Linked DNA regions of Homo sapiens: region 2 is linked to region 1. Evidence: promoter capture Hi-C in 16 types of primary human blood cells and fetal thymus (Javierre and others, 2016). All regions are on one chromosome and are shown on one strand. The core of a region is centred on a gene start or on the middle of the fragment in contact, and the rest is flanking DNA. Distances in the headings are between cores, read along the strand shown. Region 1 holds the start of RBBP7 (RB binding protein 7, chromatin remodeling factor). Region 2 overlaps NHS (NHS actin remodeling regulator).

Region 1 (5,126 bases), core at 1,913-4,412:
GTACTATGTCTCTGATTCCTTTTAGTAAATAGTTTGTTCTATCCATAGGATCACTTTCGCTGTCTTAATATAAGACTGATTAAATTCAAATTCCAACTCCAACACTCACTAGCTATGTCACCTTGGCAAGAAACCTCACCACTTTGGCTCAGCTTCCTCATGTGGTGAGCACCGGTCCAGGTGCTGAGGGCACAACAAAACAAGAATCCTACCCTCTAATTTACATTCTAGTGTGCAAGAAAAAGCCTGTGGACAAACATCTGTCAGATGGCGATAAGCGATAAGCGCTGTGAAAAAACAGAAAATAGAGTAAAGGGGATAGGAGGTGATTACCTGTGGGGGTGGATGAGGGCGTGTTGCTATTTTATAAAGGGTAGTCGGCAACAGCTAAAGGTTTAAAAACTAGGCCCAGCACGGTGGCTCATGCCTGTAATCCCAGCACTTTGAGAGGCCAAGGTGGGCAGATCCTTGAACTCAAGAGTTCGAGACCAGCCTCGGCAACACGGTGTCTCTACTAAAAACAAAACAAAACAAAATCTGGGAATGGTGGCCTGTGTCTGTGGTCCCAGCTACTTGGGAGGCTGAGGTGTGAGGTTTGCCCGAGCCCAGGAGGTTGAGGCTGCAGTGAGCTGTGATCGTGCCACTGCACTCCAGCCTGGGTGACAGAATGAGAGCCTCTCTCAAAAAAAAAAAAAAAGAAAAGAAAAGAAAAAAAGAAAGAAATAGAAATTTAAAAATCATAGTGTAGTGTTTTTCAAACTTCAAGTTGTGACTAAGCGCAATCATGAAGTCCATTTAGAATTTGCATTTTCGAAAAAATGAAATAAAATTCATCCCTTCCTTGTGTGTGTGCACCTGTTTGTGCCTTACTCTATTAGCTGAGCACAGGAGAGACAAAAAGAACAACCCCAGAAAAGTGCCAGAAAAGATTAGGACCAGAGCTAAGAGGCTGGGGAGAAAGGCAAAACAAACCCAACAGTTAAGCAATCCAAGAGAGAAAACATATCACTTTTTTTAATGCAAAAAAAGTAGTATGGAAAAAAGGCCAAAAAATTAAATAGAATTGACAGATTCAATTTAACAACAACAAAAATGCAAAACTAATGAAATATGCTGTACATGACACTTTCGGATTAAATGCATGATAGTGTGTGAATATTCTCAGAAATTCCCAAAATATTTGTTCCATATTTCCTTCTCTGACCCTCACTGAGGTAAACAGTATCAAGATTTTAAAGCCAAGTCGTCTGGGAAGATTTCTTTTCTTTCAGTCCTTTAAACATTTCTTTTAATAGGTTTTGGAAATCATGTCTACTTGTCAGAAATGAGTACACTGTATTAAAGGGATACAAATCATCTCCCAAGCCGCCTCTTGCTTTGCACACGAGGTTCTCTTTGAAGCAGAGCCATAAGGTACAATTATTCTAGAACAAGGTGGGCAAACTACAGTCCTCCGACTAAATCTAACCCACCACATGTTTTTGTATGACCCTCGAGCTGAGAATGGTTTTTCCGTTTTCAAGTGATAGAAAAAAAAAATCAAAAGATTTTGTGACCCGTGAAAACGATTTTAGTGTCTGTAGTTTTATCGGAACGCAGCCAAATGCATCCATATTTTCCATGGCTGCTTTGCGCTGCAAAGCGACAGAGTCGAGCAGTTGCCCCCAAAGCCTAAAATATTTACTATCTCGGTCCTTTTAGAAAAAGTCTTGCCAACTAATGTCCTAGAATATGAGGGCTGTATTGCTTAAACACCCTTCCAACTCTCTTCCCTCTCTAGCCACCCCCTCAGCCTTAGGCACTAACAAGATTCCTTGACCCAGAATGGGGGGAGGGCGTTATAATAATGAACGGTATTGTATCGGAAACAACACAGTAAATATCTACAGAAGGGAATGTGACTGGTTCTGCCACTGACTAACGTCTGGGTTTGCGTCCCGGTCAGAAAAGTGGGCATGACAGCGGCATCTGCAAGATAGCATCTGAGCATGAAGGCACTTGGAAAGGTATCAAGGCAGCAAATGTTCCGGGGGTGCTTTTGCAAGAGGAGCCTCTCCCGGAGCTGGACGTACACTTCGGTTCCCTTTGCACGCAGGCACCTTGGTCGCCTCCCCCAACTCCGTCCCCTCTGCTCCTGGCCCTCATTTTCTTCTATTTCCCTTTTGGCCTTGCAGCCAGCTTTCTCCTCCCCCGACACACTCCTCAGGGGCTATGAAGTTCCTGAGCAGAGCAGGGCTCAGGTAAGCAGGCCCAGGGTAGTTCAGCCCTGCTCTCTCCAGCTCCGCCAGCTTGGGGTGGGGTCGCGCTGGGACCCCTGCAGGTGACAAAAATGACTCAGCAGGGGCCGGGGCTGGGATGAGAAAGGAACGCCAGTGCAGGGACAAAATCCCCTGAAGCGCGAAGAGGCCGCAAACCATCATCTTAAGGACCCAAACATCGAACAAATTAAAATGTAACAGTGTAAATCGGCTTCGGCCCGCCGGCGGCCTGTGCCGCCACAGGCTGCACATTTAGCCTAACAGGGCGGCCCGGCGGCTTTTGCAGGCAGAAAACGCCCGCGGCCTCTCCAAAAGCTCTCCTCCGTCTGAGACCAGCCCCACCTCGGCCCGACCGGGCCCCAGGAAAGGCCAGTCGGCTGGAGGAGAACATTTCAGGGGTGCAGAGAATTGCATGTCCGTGATTATCAGGGAGACTTTGAAGGCACAGTAATCTCTCGAGAACAGGAACCATTTTCCCCTCTTGCTCTGAGATTTTGCTTGGCTAAGCGGCGGCAGCCTCCCTGCCCCCCTCTCACCCCCACCACCGCTGCCGCTACAAGCAACCACGCCCCGCGGGCCCCAAGGCTCGCCGCCCCGGGGCTCGCGGCCCCCACTCAGCCGGCCAGCCGCGCCTCCATCAGCCCCGCCCTCGCGCGCCCCCATCCGCCCCGCCCCCTCGGGCCCTCATCCGCCCCGCCCCCGCGCGCCCCATCCGCCTCCGCGGCCGGCCCTGGGAGCGCCGGGCGAGCCCTCGCGCCTGCGCATCGCCAACTTCCTGCCGCGGCACGCTCCGCCCACCCCCAGAAGCCCGCCTCCGAACGCCGCGTGAAACCCGCCCGCCGCGCGTCATTGGTCTCGGCGCCGGAGCCGTTGGCTCCCAGACCCGCCTCTCCGCCTCCTCTCACTTTTCCCAGGGCGGATGCGCCTGCGCTCAGCTGCCTGGGCGGGCTGGGAGGCGCGGGTTGAAAAGTCTCGTTCCAAGTTTGGAGAGAGAGAGAAGAGCGCCTCAGACCTCGGTACCCGCGAGCGGGGAGGAGGCAGGAAAGAAGGACGCGGCGTCTGGGGAGCACCCAGGCAGCAAGACGGGGCCCGGGCTTTCGACAGTGGGGAGTGTGACGCGCTTGGGAAAGGCAGGAGCGCCAGCGGTCGGGCTGCTCTTGGCTAACGAGAGGAGTCCGAGGCGGCGGCGAGGGGCGAACGACCCGACGCAAGATGGCGAGTAAAGAGAGTAAGAGGCCCTGCGGGGCGGCGCGCGCCGGGGCCGCGGGGGGCGGCGGGCGCGCGAGGCCGCGGCACGCGCCGGCGAAAGGCGCGAATTGGCGTGCGGAGCAGGGGGCGGGGCCGGGCGCGAGACTGGGCGCGCGCCTCGAGGGGCCTGCGCGGGACGGGACCGCCGCGCCGAGGGCTCCGAGCACTTCCGGAGCCGGGCGCGGGGCCGAGGGCTGGGCCCCCCTCTTCCCTTCCCTCCTCCAGCGGCTGCGCTCCCTCCGGCGCCCTCGGCCCCGGGGCGGAGGCGGCCCCCGCCGCTGGGAAGCGAGCGCCGCGGCTCTTTCTACGCGCGCGCGCGCGTTGACCGCCTCGGGGTCGCGGCCCTTGTCCGGGGGTTGCTGGGGTCCTCAGGCCTATGGCTGCCGAGGCGGGCGTCGTGGGAGCTGGGGCCTCCCCTGATGGGGATTGGAGAGACCAGGCCTGTGGGCTTCTGCTACACGTGCATTTGTCTTCCCGACTGGGTCGCGCAGCCCCTGTACGTACAGGTCGTCATCTTAGAACAGGTGCGAACAGCTGTAACAGGGTAAACAATTTCCATGTCCGTGTAATTGACTACCCAACATGGTGTACGCAGGGGGTATTGATCTCAATGGAAAAAATAGGCTTCCTGATTGTTAGTATTTTCTCCACCTTCTGGAAGAGCAGTTAGTTGTCCGTGTCCAAATTAGAGGTAAAAGGAAAGAGTACATGAGGTGTGGCCATCTTGAGGTGACCTCCAATTTCTGACTTTGATCTATCTCAGCCACTTAATCGTGTGGGCTTTCTCCAAATTTCAGTGTTTGAAGATACTGTGGAGGAGCGTGTCATCAATGAAGAATATAAAATCTGGAAGAAGAATACACCGTTTCTATATGACCTGGTTATGACCCATGCTCTTCAGTGGCCCAGTCTTACCGTTCAGTGGCTTCCTGAAGTGACTAAGTAAGGGTTTCTGGCAACTTTTATTTTGTTTAAATTTAACTGTCGTTCTGAATTTCCTAGTTTTGGCGTTTTATGCATAGAACATAAGTATGTAATCAGCCCTTGCATGAGGTGGCAGGTGGTTTTTATTTTCAAAACTTACGTGATTTGTGGGATGATTTCTGGTGTATAGTGTGGTGGTAAAAGGGGAGAAAGAAGCTGTTGTGAGATTAATCGTGTTTGGAGGAAGCACTGAATATATTTGACATTTCCTGGGCTTGAATGTAGAGCAGCATCTTTCTGGGCCCAAACTAATGCGTTTCTTTAAAACTTTACTGAAAAATAGAATATTTACGGAAAAGTTCACACATCTTAAGTGTTGTATGGCTTGATAAATTTTTACAAAGTGAACACACGTAACAGTCATCCAAGATAAATACATTTTAATTGGTAAAGGGAAAAAGACCTTGTCAACAATTGACCAAAGAAAAGATGTTATCGGCTTATGGAATACACTTTGAGATTGCTGTTAGTCTTCATAAGAGTATTCTTTTCTGTTACATCTGCAGTTTCTCTGGTAATAATTGCTGGCATTTATTGAGCACTCAGAACAGGGCCTGGCACATCTGAAGAATCTACGTCCTGTTGTTTGTTGTAATCCTCATAATAGTACTATGCTGTAGGTACTTTTCATCATCC
Region 2 (5,126 bases), core at 1,588-4,087, 860 kb before region 1:
ATCTTATTGCCTCACAATTCAAGTCAATATGTATTTTAAAAAATATATGGTACCATTACTTAATGTCAATAATAAAAAGGTGACATTTTTATTAAAGCCAATTCATGTGTTTTCTATTCAAGATTTAGAATCACTTTTAAAGCCCACATACCTTTCTTCACACTTAAAAAACCCCTAACTACACAAAAGCCATACTGCAAACGAACTGCTTTTATGAAATTACGAAAGATCGCCTACTGTGACTGGAAATGACGGTTTCTTATCGCATTTGCCTAAAAACTTTATTTTTAAAACTTTGCAAGGTGTACTTTTCAAATCATGAGACAGATTTATTCATGTTCCCATGTGGTGTCAAACCATGCTGGTTTTCTTAATTAATGGGTTCCAATGAGAAATGGTGGTCCATTTTATTCAAACCCCAAAATATTTTTCTTTTAAGAAAAAGTGTGACATTTTGTAAATGTTCAAACCCTTTACCAGGTAGCTTATCTATCCCCAGTGTGTGTGCGTACACACACACTCACACTCACACACACCCATACACACTCTCTCTGACTCTCCCTCCTCTTATACCCCTCCACCCCCAGCACCCATTTTACATACAAGGATGACAAGAAATTTAGTAACACAGTTTGGTAGTGAAAACAAATAGTAGAAGAAGCCAGACATTTTTTTTCTTTCCAAACAAACAAAACAACAGCAATCAGATTATCTATTCTTAATCTGTAGCAGTTTAGAAATCATTTCTATTGAAAGACAGTATCTTCTTAGACCAGGCTTCCTCCTTCATTTTGCATGAATTAATCCAAAATGCAAACCCTCTTCCACACCTCCTACTTTCCCAACTACCACTTGCATAAGCTTAAAGCCAGCAGCTTGTCAATTTCTTGGTAACATTGGTATGTTCTATCACTCTAATCACATTCTAGTCTTTTATAAGTCAGATCCCTTCTTAATTCTCTCTCTGTTCTACCTCTCCCATTCAAAACCTATTCTAAGTACATAGCTGCTTATATTTCTGACATAAGATTCCAAACATTAGTATAAGTTCATGTTAAAATCAGAGGTGTAAAAACCATTTGCAGATTTTAACGTGTAACTACATTTTTTTTTCAGTTTTAAGACAAGAAAATTCAAGTAATTTCAAGTAATTCAGCTTGTTTCCCTGCCTTTATTTTATCAGAGCACATGCCCTGACATTTCCTCTCCCACCCTCCACCCTCCCCTTTTGCCATCAAGCAGACACTATAGTAAAACCAGACAAAAACTCAGTTGTATGTAGTATTGTGAACCAGAGCTGTTCCCCATTCCCAGTTTAACAATGAGTATAAATAATGCATATACACATACCTATTTTCCAACTACATTGTTCACAGTGTCATTTCTGTTAATTTTTAGGTAGCATGAATCTCATCAGCACAGAGAGAAAGCTTCACTGAAAACTCATTACAGGTACTTACTGATTAATCAATAGCTCTGTGGCATGCTTAGGTTTTATTTTTGTTAGTTTAAGAACCTGGAGCTAATTTCTAAACTGTTTAAGGAGTTTAATGATTACAGTCATTAGTTATGACCGTTTATGTCCCCAGTAGCCTAATATAAAACATAACCTAAAATTAACTACTATTTTCCCTACTCATTCTCTTTAAAGCAATCCATTGAAAAAATTAAAATCTAAAGGACACTGTCAAATGCTGTTGTTCAGGGCTTTGTGTTGAGAATGATGACTTCTCTCACTGATTAAAAAAAAAATCAAAAGCATGCTTTTCATTCTGTCCAAATTACCACACAACAAATCACAGCCATGGGTTGCTATTAGTTTGTTTGGTGCTGCAATTTGTCATAAAAATGATTAGATCTGAATTCATTATTTTAATTTATTCATATTTCAGTATATGACCTCAAGATTTCCTTTAGTTCACCAGTTTAAAATTCATATTTGAGGTTTACCACTCAGAAATCATATTGGTGGACATTTAAATATGGCATTTGATATGAAAATGGTATTCACAGAATACAGTTATTACATTTTATTTTTGTGTATTCTATAAACAGTTGGTGTGCAGTAGATAATTGACCACATGTCCACTCATCATTGATAAATCTATTTACACATTTTTATCAAAAATATGGTATTTACATATGTGTAGTTCTTTCTTCTAAATTTTGCTTTAGTTTGTTTTAATGTAAAAAAATACCAAACATCCAGAGTAATTTCATCTTCTTAAAGAATAATGACAGTGAGGGCTTTAGTTTCTGAATAGGCAGCTCTGGGAAAACGTTTTCTAGGTGTCATGAAAATTAGACAATTTTGTATCCTCTATTTTCACAAGGAAGGAGATTGCGTAAATCAAACTATGCTAAAGAAAAACATGAAAGACTGCAGCTACTTAAAATATGGAAACTAATCAAGAATGTCTAAACCACTTTCTGTTTACCCAGCACATACTGTATTTAGAAATTCATTCATTGCTTAGCAGTGATGCTACCCCATCAAGTTGAGACTTTTCCCAAGTCCTCTGTTCTGTTCCTCCATCCTCATGTGAGTAAGGGTTTTGGCCTTTGCCAGGCAGCCTGGTACAGGCAGTCTATGTTGAACTCTGGGAGGAACGGTCGTCATGTGGGCTCCCGTCAGAATTTTCCGTCTCTCCCTCGGAGATTGCCTGCATGGGCGTATTGTACAGCCGGCAGCGGACACTGTAGCGGCTGCTGCTGGCTGCAGGAGGGGCCCGAGAACGTCCAACCCTTGCTGATGCTGAGGTGGCAAAGCTCTTCGAGGAAAAGCCTTCTGCATTAACTCGTGGGGAGCATGGAGAGAGTGGGGACAATGCCTCAGCCCCTTGTGACCCCTGATGGGCATCATCGGTGCTCTGAGGGGACTCTGCTGTGAGCTCCCCAGGAGGTTTGGGCAGTATGGGGCTCTTCAGGATCTCAGTGGCAGACATGCGGTAACTAGAATCTGAGCGACTGCCTTTCTTGAGCAGTAACAGCTTAAACTCTTCATTGGATGTGTTGGACTTTTTGGCATTTCGGTATATGAGACCAGGAGACCTCTGGCTGTTGGGGGTTGTCACATTACTGCTGGGTGAAGTGATGGAACTGGCGCTGCTGCTGCTACTGCTGAGGGGAGCTCTCGATTTGCTTCGAACAGACATGTCCCCGGAATCTTTTCTTCCAAGTACTTTCCTCTTGGATCTTTGAGAAAAGGAGAAAATGGGGCAAACATCTCACTCAGTTCACGTTTTTATGAAACTGAAGTATTCAGTCGCATTCACACATCTGTCTAAAGTGCATTTTGAGCCTGTCCTATATGATGGGATACTAAGCATTAGGGCTATAGAGATGAAAAGTAAGATATGTTCCTTGTCCTTGTAGCACCCACAGTCTGAGAGAAATTCTCTGATAACCAGGACACAAATTAGGTTCTAGAGATGATCATTTCAGATAATGGCTAATGTGGAGGCTAGAGGTTCTAGAGGATACTTTGTAAAAGTTTAAGAAACTATACTGCTAACAGCCAGGCGCAGTGGCTCACACCTGTAATCCCAGCACTTTGGTAGGCCGAGATAGGCAGATCACTTGAGGTCAGGAGTTCGAGACCATCCTGGCCAACATGGTGAAACCCCGTCTCTACTAAAAATACAAAAATTAGCCGGGCATGATGGAGCATGCCTGTAGTCCCAGCTACTCAGGAAGCTGAGGCAGGAGAATCACTTGAACCCGGGAGGCGGAGGTTGCAGTGAGCTGAGATCACGCCATTGCACTCCAGCAGCCTGGGCGACAGAGCAAGACTCTGCCTCAAAAAAAAAAAAAAAAAAAAAAAAAAAAGGAAGAAACTATACTGCTAACTAAACTATACTTCTGGTTCCAGGGGGTGAAAGACTATAACTTTTTCTTATTAACTCTGTCTCTGCAATACAGATGAAATGATCTGATGTCTGGGATTGGCTTCCAAATAATACCAGAGAAAGCAAGTGGATGGAGGTGTGGGTGGGACAGGATTGGCCCTAGTTTGACAGTTGATAATCCTGGATGATGGATATGTCAGCAGACATTATACTATTCTACCTTTTAAAATCCCTCCATATAAAAACATAATTAAATGACGTTTTAAGTCAATTCATCTTGGGCTGCAAGTATCATTTCCTATAGCTTCCTAAGAGCATCAAGAGCATATTAAGCAGTAAGCCAGCTCTCTGTGGGGAATTGAAATCCCAGACCATCTCTGGAGCTCTTAAAGCTTTGTATACTGTAAGCTCGCAAGAAAACAAAATAATTCTTTTTGCTGTGATGTAAATAAACAAGTAAATAGATAAATAAGTAAACCCTGCACAAATGCAAGTCTAAGATTACCAAACTCAATACATCTATTGAACCTTGACTCCCATCATCATATTATTGATTTTCTTTGGTAAATCAGCAGGCATAAATTTGGTGGATCTTCAGTATGACTCAGTTCATTGATAGGCAGCATGCACTTTCATCAACTTAAAGATTCATATGGTAGAGAAAATGTGAACTTCACAAGTGTAGATATGCTTGATTTTGGTTCACAGAAACCTCTGTGGTTGATATCTTGTATATGGCAGTGTCTGGCACTCCACTAAGTTAGGGCTTTCAAACTAACAATGGCTTTTAGCACCTACCATATTCTAAACACAAAAAATGTTATCATCAAAATCAAATACGTGAGCTATAGGCATTCCCATGTGCAATAAGGGAGTAGGTCCAGAGGTTTTAACTTACTCAAGACTGCATAGGAAGTGGCAGAGTTGGGATTCAAATCCAGGTCTTTCTGACCCCACTATTTACGTCCTGTCCACTATTCCATACACTAGCATTTGGTCCTTTGGGAGTAACTTTTTAACTTACATAGCAGTTTAGTAATTTTTCCTGGGATTGAAGATAAACTGTGGGGGTGAGGGAAATATAATCAGAGCTTAGACTAGGCACAGGGGTGAAGGAAAAGAAACTAATGGTTCTTCACCCTCTGAGTAGAGAAGTATGCCTGCTAAGGTATACATAGAAGGTGTTTCTGATTGGCTCCTTTTAAAACAATTGTTGAACAGCAGTACTCCTTCTTTATGAGAGAACCACATCAACAGAAAACAGAAATTCCTATAAAA

What was found. Contacts are between HindIII fragments. The CHiCAGO score rates a contact against its expected background, and 5 or more counts as called.
Region 2: a contact is called between a fragment that was not itself captured here and the fragment with the promoter of RBBP7 in region 1, in 1 of 17 cell types (neutrophils). The highest score is 6.1, in neutrophils.

Annotation. Positions count from the first base shown.
Region 1 is chrX:16,868,398-16,873,523 of GRCh38, reverse strand. It overlaps RBBP7 (RB binding protein 7, chromatin remodeling factor), which reads left to right and starts at 3,162. Exons shown (of 12, transcript NM_002893.4): 1 at 3,162-3,486; 2 at 4,304-4,448. The coding sequence starts at 3,471. RefSeq lists enhancers at 2,468-3,146, 4,156-4,245 and silencers at 2,886-3,195, 3,526-3,575, 3,596-3,935. The HindIII fragment of the contact is 7,607 bases long and covers 1-5,126 here.
Region 2 is chrX:17,729,927-17,735,052 of GRCh38, reverse strand. NHS (NHS actin remodeling regulator) reads right to left here. Exons shown (of 9, transcript NM_001291867.2): 9 at 1-3,195. The coding sequence ends at 2,589. Among named protein-coding and RNA genes, the nearest start is that of SCML1, 5.0 kb to the left of the region's middle. The HindIII fragment of the contact is 2,810 bases long and covers 1,433-4,242 here.